Regions from separate parts of the Homo sapiens genome. Here all the other regions are linked to region 1. Evidence: promoter capture Hi-C in human tissues and cell types (Jung and others, 2019). All regions are on one chromosome and are shown on one strand. The core of a region is centred on a gene start or on the middle of the fragment in contact, and the rest is flanking DNA. Distances in the headings are between cores, read along the strand shown. Region 1 holds the start of HOXC5 (homeobox C5). Region 2 overlaps FLJ12825 (a long non-coding RNA gene). Region 3 overlaps FLJ12825 (a long non-coding RNA gene).

Region 1 (3,099 bases), core at 98-2,597:
CAGTGCCTCCACCAGTGAGGAGGGGGCCTTCTCCTGGCGGGGCGGAGATTTCCTGGGAAGAAGCAGGCAGGGAAGTATGAGACTTGGGGCTACGGGGGAAGAGGATGGGGCCGAATGGCTGCAGATACCCTGCGAAGGCTACCCAGGCGCCTGCCCTGCCCACCCCCCAGGTCCGCCCCATTCCTCTTGGTAGCTCAGAAATTGCTCTCTTGTGAACCTTATGGATTCAGGTCCCTGGAAAGCCTAGCCCAGAGACCTTTTCCCCAAAGGGCACATAACGGGCCTTTTCCTCTGCCATGCTCACGTAATATTTGTGGAGGCTTCAATCTTGCTTCTCCATGTCCTCAATTAACATCTATTTTCTGTCTAAAACCTCTGGCATAGGTACCACATAAGGATCGCACACAGGGAAACAGAGCAGTCCTCTAGACCATTGTCTGGCTCTGTCCGTGTCCACACACACACTTGAAAATTGCCTTGTTGCCACTCTGGGGACCCTAGCATGGTGAGGTCTAGCCAACTCCACCTGGCTCCTCACCTCCAGATCCATCCCAAACAGCCTGCAACACCCTCAGCTTCATGACCCCCCTATCTTGTTCTGACCACTCAGGATCCCTCCTCCTGGGCGTCCTGTCTACCTCTTCAGAAGCTAATTCTACTTTCTCTTGCTGATAGGCACCTCTTCAGCAGTAGTGGAGCCTTAGGGCCTGAGAGGCAAGGGACTTCTACCTTTGGTTTAGGGAACCTAAGTTAAACCCCATTGGTTCTCCAGCCTGGGCATAGGCCACCTTACCTAACTTAATCCCCTTTCCTCAGCCATTTTTGAAGATTGGAAGACCCTGGAGGTTGGGAGAACGGGACTTTCATTACAAAAAGCACTCTGTGCGTTATAAGTGGGGCCTCGTCTTTTCCCAATTTTAAATAGAATTTAAAAGGCTAGCTCAGGGGTTGCCCCAACAACCAGCTTCTCCTTCACAGTGTAGGAAATCCAGCCACCGGAAAGCAAGCTGGCGCTCCAGGATGCAATTCCCCCACATAGGCACCAGGTGTCGCTGTGGGCTTGTTGTCCCGGCTACCCCCAATTCCAAGAACCTTTTTTTTTTTTTCCCTCCCCCTTCCCTCTTTCTCTCTCTCACTCCCTCTCCCCCTTGGTTGGGCTTTGCCAACATATCGAGATGCTTTTCGCCGGCTTCCATCACTAACCTCCCGGAGGTCATCAAGCCAAATTTATGAGTGGCCGCTCGAGTCACGTGACTCTATTTAAGGCTCCCTTATTTGGGAAGAGCGCATAGGATAAAGAAAGAGATATCTCCACCTATAAATTGTCCACTTTGGAGAACAAAAAACCCCTCAACTTCAAAGAGTCACAAATCACCCTTAATCAAAAAGGGTGCAGAAATTTTTTTGGGCCCTCCCCGCCATGAGCTCCTACGTAGCCAATTCATTCTATAAGCAGAGCCCCAATATCCCTGCCTATAACATGCAAACTTGTGGGAACTATGGATCGGCCTCAGAGGTGCAGGCATCCAGGTACTGCTACGGCGGATTGGACTTAAGCATCACTTTCCCACCGCCTGCGCCTTCCAACTCTCTCCACGGGGTAGACATGGCTGCCAACCCCCGGGCTCACCCCGACCGCCCCGCCTGCAGCGCCGCGGCCGCTCCGGGACACGCTCCGGGCAGAGACGAAGCGGCTCCTCTGAACCCCGGGATGTACAGTCAGAAGGCGGCTCGCCCGGCGCTGGAGGAGCGAGCTAAGAGCAGTGGGGAGATCAAAGAGGAGCAGGCGCAGACAGGGCAGCCCGCCGGACTGAGCCAGCCACCGGCCCCGCCACAGATTTACCCGTGGATGACCAAACTGCACATGAGCCACGGTAAACTTTAGGACTTCATTTTGCGCTCTCGGGTCCGCCTGGGTTTTATAGGCCATGCGGGGCAAATAAAGAAAAAAAACCTGCGGCCATAAATTTTACGATCCAGGCATCAATGGCTCGTAAAACTGTCCACTAAAAGGCTTAGAGGCTGTGTGCGCCCAAATTTACGACGACATAATTGGATCATAGGAACAAAACGTGTATAAAAGGCAATATTCAATTTTTGGGGGAGAGGGAGGGAGTTAAAAAAATAGAGGGATCTGAAGGGTGAGGAGCGCGGGGCTCCAGAGCGGGGATCCCCCCGCGGCTCCCTCCCTCCCTCCCCTGCGGAGCCGGCTCCGCCGGCGCTTGCGGCTCCGGAGGATTCCAGCGACTCGGGAGGGGCGGGAGGGGGGTCCCCGGTGCTCGGATCTCGAGGGTGCTTATTGTTCGGTCCGAGCCTGGGTCTCCCTCTTCCCCCCAACCCCCCCTCAGCCCCTCCGGCTGCAGAGTGAAGGCTGCGGTGGAAAGTTTCCTGCCTGGGCGGAGGCGCCTCTCCCGGGGCTGGGCTGGGCTGGCCCGCCTGCGGCCCGCGTGGCCTGTCTTGCGGCTCTCGCCTCCTCTCCCTCCGGCCGCGGGTGGGGGCCTGGGCTGGGGTGGGGACGGGGGAACGCTGCAAGCTATTCACCCCTTCCTGGCTTGGGGTGGGGTTTATGTTCCAGAGACGGACGGCAAGCGGTCCCGAACCAGTTACACGCGCTACCAGACTCTGGAACTCGAGAAAGAATTCCACTTTAACCGCTACCTCACTCGCCGCAGGCGCATAGAGATCGCCAACAACTTGTGTCTCAATGAGAGACAGATCAAGATCTGGTTCCAGAACCGCAGGATGAAGTGGAAGAAAGATTCCAAAATGAAAAGCAAAGAGGCTCTTTAGAGGCAGCGGGGGAGGCCCGCAGAGCGCGCCCCTAGCCGGTTCCTGTCCCTGCGCCTTTCCTTTTCGCCTTTCCTCTCTATATTTCGGGTCGGGGGCAGGTGCTGGAGCACTGGGCTCCCGGGCCCCACAGACAAAAGCGCTTTTCCTTGGCATTCCGCATCCCTACCGACCCAGGGTTCCCGCGGGGCTGTCGGCGCTGCCCCATCTCCCCTCAGCTCGGCTCAGCTCGGTACCCGGGGCCCAGGGCAAGCTCCGCAGGACTTCCCCGGAGGGCTGCGGCGTACAGGCTGGCGCAGAACGAACCTTGGC
Region 2 (3,112 bases), core at 455-2,954, 39 kb after region 1:
TCTCAGCTCACTGCAACCTCCACCTCCCAGGTTCAAGAGATTCTCCTGCCTCAGCCTCCCAAGTAGCTGAGATTACAGGCGCAAGCCACCATGCCTGGCTAATTTTTGTATTTTTAGTAGAGACACGGTTTCACCATGTTGGTCAGGCTGGTCTCGAACTCCTGACCTCAGGTGATCCGCCCACCTCGGCCTCCCAAAGTGCTGGGATTACAGGCATGAGCCATCGCACCTGGCCTGCTGATCTCTTCTTATAAGGACAGTAGTTATATTTAATTAGAGCCTACCCATATAATCTTGCCTTAACTTAATTACCTCTTTAAAGGGCCTATCTCCAAATACAGTCACATTCTGAGTTACTGAGGGTTAGGACTTCAAGAAATGGAACTTGCGGAGACACAATTCAGCCCTTAACTGACACCATGACTCTGGATTCCTAGTCCGCTGCCATTGTGCCCATGTCAGACTAAGTCATCTGGTGGATCCTATTCTTAAGTTGGCTCAATTTTGTTATGTTTCTTAGGGATGGGGAAGCTGTTTAGAGCCAACGTGAAATTGAAAACTGTTTCCTGGAGCCAAGGCCCATTGGGAAACTGAGTGAGCATGGGCTGGGGAATCCGGGATTAGGCTGACCACCAAACACTGGGAAATGGAAGTTTCTAACCAGAATCTTGGAACTGGAAAGAACTCAGTGAGGTTAACTTAGCCATCTCAGATGGAGGAGAACTTACCTGGTATGTTCAGAGAACACAACTGTCTGAGAGCTCTCATCACTGATATATTCTTTCTTATGTGTATTCAGATTCTTCAGGCCAAGCTCAAACCCCTATCCCTTGCCTCCAGTCCTCAGCGTTGGACAGTAAGATAAAACTCATCCAATAAGAGAGGTTTTCTCCCTTGAAGCTTGAAGAAGCCTTGACAAGATCTTAAGGAAATTTTTTTATTCAAGAGAGCCTCTTTCTCTCCTCATCTGAGGCTGGAGGTGGGGAATTTAGAGGCAAAAACTTCCCTTACCCCGTTGTTGTCTGTCCTAAGACCTTCAGCCCCTTATCTGGGCCCTGGCCAGCTCTAGAAAATGGATTAAGGTGAGTTGATATGTAATGTGGTACAGAAGCAGGGAGAGGGGAGAAGCCCTCTAATATCGCAGAGATCACAGATGGCTCCAGTGGGATTATGGGGCATGGTGTATGATGAGGCTTGTGCCAAAAAGTGGCCACAACCAGGAAGAAGGGTCCATCTTATTATGATGGTTGGTGACTCTCCCTGCCATGGAGAGCAAGCTTGGATTCTGGGGTTTGGAGGGAGCAACTCCAAAAATATCCAGCTGAAACACACAGAGCCAGAGTCAGCATGGTGCTGGGACTAGTACTGGTTCAGGGATCAGAACACCTGGGTTCTGATCTCTGTCTGAGCCTCAGTTTCTCTTCCTTCACAATGAAGTGGTTTGATTAGGTTATCACTAAGATCCTTCCAGCTCTGAGACTCTAAGCAAAAACTGAAGGATGCTGGGGGGCAGGGAGAAGGAATACTCTTTGTAGCAAATCAGATGATGGACTATGTGTCTCTGTGAACCAAACCAGGCACAGAAAACTCTCCATCTTCATTCCAGAGTTGGTGGGGGGTGGGGGAGTAGGGGGTGTTAGCTGTGGTGTCTCCTTATTTGACAACTCAACCTTTTCCACAGAGCCCCTGCAGACACACTATGGGGAGCTGTTTCCCTTAAGGACCCTGCCCCTGAGGGAAGAGAGGCAGAAACAAGATGGGGCAGGAAGTTGGAAAGGGTGTCTGCATGATGCCAATAGCCAGGTGAAAACAGAGAAATCAGCCCACTATCTGCTTAGTTTCAAATAGAATAAAGGGATCCAATTTTGTAGCTTTCATCTGATGTAATGGATAATGAGATGCAGGATCAGCCTTTTGCAGTGATTCAGTTTAAAGCCCCTGGGAAGGATCTGTTTCCCCCTCCCCAATTATCCTGCCACAAAAAAGCCTTAAGTTCCACCATTAAAGCACATGGTGTTAAGTACAGTCCTCTGCAGATCACATCCTTTAAAATACAAAAGCACCACTGGGATACTTCATCAAACAAGGATAGAATCAGAAAAGTAGTGCTTAGGGGGTATGCTTAGGGAGATGAGGGGCCCTGAAGATTAATCTCTAGATACTTCTCAGTTTCACATTGCCTGATCCTTGTGGGAAAGCTAGATTCTGCCTGAGGAAGTGGGAACTCAGGGACTCCCCTAGAAACCAGATGCCTGCAATTATGAGTATATTTCTAGTCCTGGGAAATGGGTGGACTCTAAGTGGTGAGGGTAGTTATCACACCAAAAAATCACAGAGGCTGCCAGTAAAACTTAAATCAGGGGGATGGAAATTCTGATAATATACGTGCATTTGGGTCAGCCACTATAGAAACCAGTGTAGAAGTACTTCATGGGGCCCCCTGTATGTCCAGAGGATATAAAACTATTCCAGAGGGGGAAAAATCCCTTCCATTTCTATGATTATCTACTGTATATCTAACCCATAAGGCATGGTTTGAAAGTATTAAAACCTAGCAGATAGGGAAACACACAGCCAGGGTTCAGATCTAGTGATGTGACCTTGGGTGGGTGACTTAACCTTTCTGAGAATAGATTTCCTCATCAAATTCAGTATAAAGCAACTGGCATATAGTAATCTTCTAGAAATGGAAACTATTATAGTTATGAGTACTGAGGGAGCTTCAGGACACTATTCATGAATTGGCACTAAGCCATGGAATGAATGGTCACCATAGTCAGAGCAAATCAGAGGTCCAGACCCTGATAAATTCATGCATAATCTTTTTCTTTTTTCTTTCTTTCTTTTTTTTTTTTTTTTTTTTGAGACGGAGTCTTGCTCTGTTGCCCAGGCTGGAGTGCAGTGGCACAATCTCGGCTCACTGCAAGCTCTGCCTCCTGGGTTCACACCATTCTCCTGCCTCAGTCTCCTGAGTACCTGGGACTACAGGCACCTGCCACCACGCCCAGTAAACTTTTTGTATTTTTAGTAGAAATGGGGTTTCACCGTGTTAGCCAGGATGGTCTTGATCTCCTGACTTCGTGATCCGCCTGCCTCAGCCTCCCAGCGTGCT
Region 3 (3,017 bases), core at 207-2,706, 55 kb after region 1:
AGGGAGGGATAAAAATTACACAGTCTTGCAGATAAGCAGGGCCCATTTACCGGGCACTGATACTCTTCTATTAGCTCTAGAGGGTCTCAACTTTCGCTGCACACTGGAATCCCCAGCGAGTTTTTCTGTTTGTTCGTTTTTGTTTTTGAGATGGTGTCTTGCTCTTGTCGCCCAGGCTAGAGTGCGGTGGCACATCTCGGCTCACTACATACAACCTCTGCCTCCTGGGTTCAAGCAATTATCCCTGCCTCAGCCTCGCGAGTAGCTGGGATTACAGGTGCTTGCCACCATGCCTGGCTAATTTTTGTATTTTTAATACAGACGGGGTTTCACCATGTTTGCCAGGCTGGTCTCGAACTCCTCACCTCAGGTAATCCACCCGCCTCGGCCTCCCAACATGCTGGGATTACAGGTGTGAGCCACCATGCCCCGCCACAAGTTTTTTAAAATACTGATGCCTGGGTCCCACCTCCAGAGATTCCAATTTGGTTGGCCTGTAGTAGGGCCTGGGCATCTGGATTTTTAAAACTCCCCAGGTTGCTAATGTGTAGCCAGAGGTTGAGATGCAGGCCCTAGGAAATGATACAAGAGATAAGGGGAGGGCTGACACTTCTGCCAGAGCAAGGGAGGGGAGGGATGCTCAGCTGAGAGCTGCTTCTCAACCTTGGACATCCCCTACCAGTGGCACTGCTTCAGTTGGGGAAGTTTTCACTTAGAATTAGCTTCTCTTGAGATCCCAGAATTTCAGACTCTCACCCTTTTCATTTCCTATAACTATTAGAATTTACAAAGGGGCCACCCCAAGAGGAGACAGAGGAATCGACAGATTGACCTCTAAGAGGCTCATCTCTTATCAGAAAAGCATATGGTCCCCAGACCACCAGTGATAGAAGCAGAGGCAGATACCTCCAGTAGTGGGAAAATTTGTAGTTACATAGTAAATGGAGTTTCTACCTGGTTGCTACAATAATAGGCCAAGCAATTAGGATACAAGTTTCCAGGATCTTTTCCTATATTTCCAAAAAGATAAATCACCCCTAGGAACAGAATCTGCATATTGTAATTAACTGATAAATATTTCATGCCTGGTTCAAACTTTCTCCTCTTCTATTTAATGGCCACAAACTTGAGCACAGAGGAAACAGGAGTGAGGAGAGTGGGGGTTGGCTGTAGGGGGGAGGTTCTACCTTGGCTTCAGGGAGGGAGAAACTGTCTTAGTTAATTATTTACTGTCCTCCTGTTCTTTTAAGAAAACATTGCTCACCTGGAGAAAATCAGGTCCCAGGTGGTAAAGGGTGTGACTTGGGCTTGTTGGCCTGAGCCCTGACCTCCCCCAGGAGAGGCCAGTTTTTGATGACCCTGGGGGTGCTGGGAACTGCAGGCTTTGGAGTCAAGGGCCCAGTGTTTAAACAAGAGCTCTGTTCTGTCACTTATTAACTGGATGGCTTTAGGTAATTTACCTAATTTATGTGAAACTCAGTTTCTTCATCTGTAAAACAGACATAATTTTTACCTTGTAGGGTGGCCTATGCTCAGTTGGCTCTCAATGCTTGATAACTATTATTATCAACAGTAACAATGAATAATTAATAGCCCATTGGATTGTACCCTTTCCCTTCCTCAACCCTGCTCCAATGTGTAGGGCACCTAAACTATTGGATGCTTACTGTGAGTACGGTGAATGCCTTAGCTCAATTAATCAACATAATTCTTTGAAGGGAATATCTTATCATCCCTACTTACCTGTGTTTTGCAAATGAGGGAACAGGGCGTGTAGAAGTTAAATACCTTGCCAGGTGTCACACAACTAAGTGGTTAAGAGCACAGGCTCTGCAGTCTGACTGTATAGTTTCAAATTTGGGCTCTGCCACTTAATAATAGACTCTCCTTGACTTACAATGAGGCTGTGTCCCGATAAAGCTGTAGTAAGCTGAAAATATTGTAAGGTGGATATGCATTTCATACACCTAACCCACCAAACATCATAGCTCAGCCTCGCTTACCTTAAAGTGCTCAGGACACTTTCATCAGCCTACAGTTGGGCAAGATCATCTAGCACAAAGCCTATTTTATAATCAAGTGTTGAATATCTCATGTATTCAACATGAGATATGTATTCATCTCATGTATTCAACATGAGATATGTATTCATCTCATGTATTCAACATGAGATTCAACATGTTATAATATACTGTGCTGAAAGTGAAAAACAGAGCGGCTGTATGAGTATTAGAAGTACAGTATCTAATGAATGCATATCACTTCGGCATCATCATAAAGCTGAGAAATTGTAAGTCAAAGCATCATAAGTCGAGGACCGTCTGTAATCACTGCAGGATGGAACATAAATTGCTTAACCTCGCTAAGCCTCAGTTTCTTCATCTGTAAATTGGGGATATGAATGGTACCTACCTGAAAGGTAGTTGTGAGAATTAAGTGAGAAATGCGTGTATAGTGCATGTCTCAGTACTGGCATGTGGTAAGTGCCCAGTAAATGTGAGTTGTCAGTACCATCATCATACTACCCAGCAACTCAGGGCCATGGTGTCTCCTGCTGTTTGGTGGTGTTTGGGAGGTGAGTGAGTGTGAGGGTCCTCCAAAGGTCACAGAGCTGCTCTTTTAACTCCCCCTGACAGACACACACACTTCAGTATCTAGGACTCGGGAAAAAGGACACTAAGCAGATTATGACTCCATTTCGGGAATTAAATCAAAACTCAAGACTAACTCAATTTGGCTTCTGACAAGAGGGAAAGGTTAAAAGGGAGTGAGGAGGCGGCTGGGTGTGCGTTCAGAATTGCAATTGGTTCTGGATCCCACCTCCAAGCCCCTCCACAGGGCCAGGCCCAAGGAGTATCCCCCGGGGGTGGAGGAGTGAAGGAGCCTTAGAACCTGTGTTATCTGAATGTGGGTGAGGTGGGGAGAACATGGTCAAGGAGTTGGGAAATTATCCAGAAACATTTTCCAAAGGGAGATCTTCCCGCATACCACCTCAACCTGGCCCTGGGTTGCAGGGG

Evidence for each region. Contacts are between HindIII fragments. The study calls those that stand out against the background at their distance.
Region 2: a contact is called between a fragment that was not itself captured here and the fragment with the promoter of HOXC5 in region 1, in 3 of the 25 tissues and cell types used here (neural progenitor cells, psoas muscle and small bowel).
Region 3: a fragment that was not itself captured here is called in contact with the fragment with the promoter of HOXC5 in region 1 in 1 of the 25 tissues and cell types used here (neural progenitor cells).

Annotation. Positions count from the first base shown.
Region 1 is chr12:54,031,703-54,034,801 of GRCh38, forward strand. HOXC5 (homeobox C5) reads left to right here and starts at 1,348. Exons shown (of 2, transcript NM_018953.4): 1 at 1,348-1,874; 2 at 2,576-3,099. The coding sequence starts at 1,421. The coding sequence ends at 2,790. MIR615 (microRNA 615) reads left to right here and starts at 2,248; the gene lies at 2,248-2,343. It also overlaps a transcript of HOXC4 not described here. RefSeq lists enhancers at 863-1,157, 1,152-2,303 and a silencer at 2,387-2,446. The HindIII fragment of the contact is 19,535 bases long and covers 1-3,099 here.
Region 2 is chr12:54,069,858-54,072,969 of GRCh38, forward strand. All of the region lies in intron 1 of FLJ12825 (a long non-coding RNA gene), which reads left to right. Among named protein-coding and RNA genes, the nearest start is that of FLJ12825, 13 kb to the left of the region's middle. The HindIII fragment of the contact is 5,968 bases long and covers 1-3,112 here.
Region 3 is chr12:54,086,873-54,089,889 of GRCh38, forward strand. All of the region lies in intron 1 of FLJ12825 (a long non-coding RNA gene), which reads left to right. Among named protein-coding and RNA genes, the nearest start is that of FLJ12825, 30 kb to the left of the region's middle. The HindIII fragment of the contact is 9,088 bases long and covers 1-3,017 here.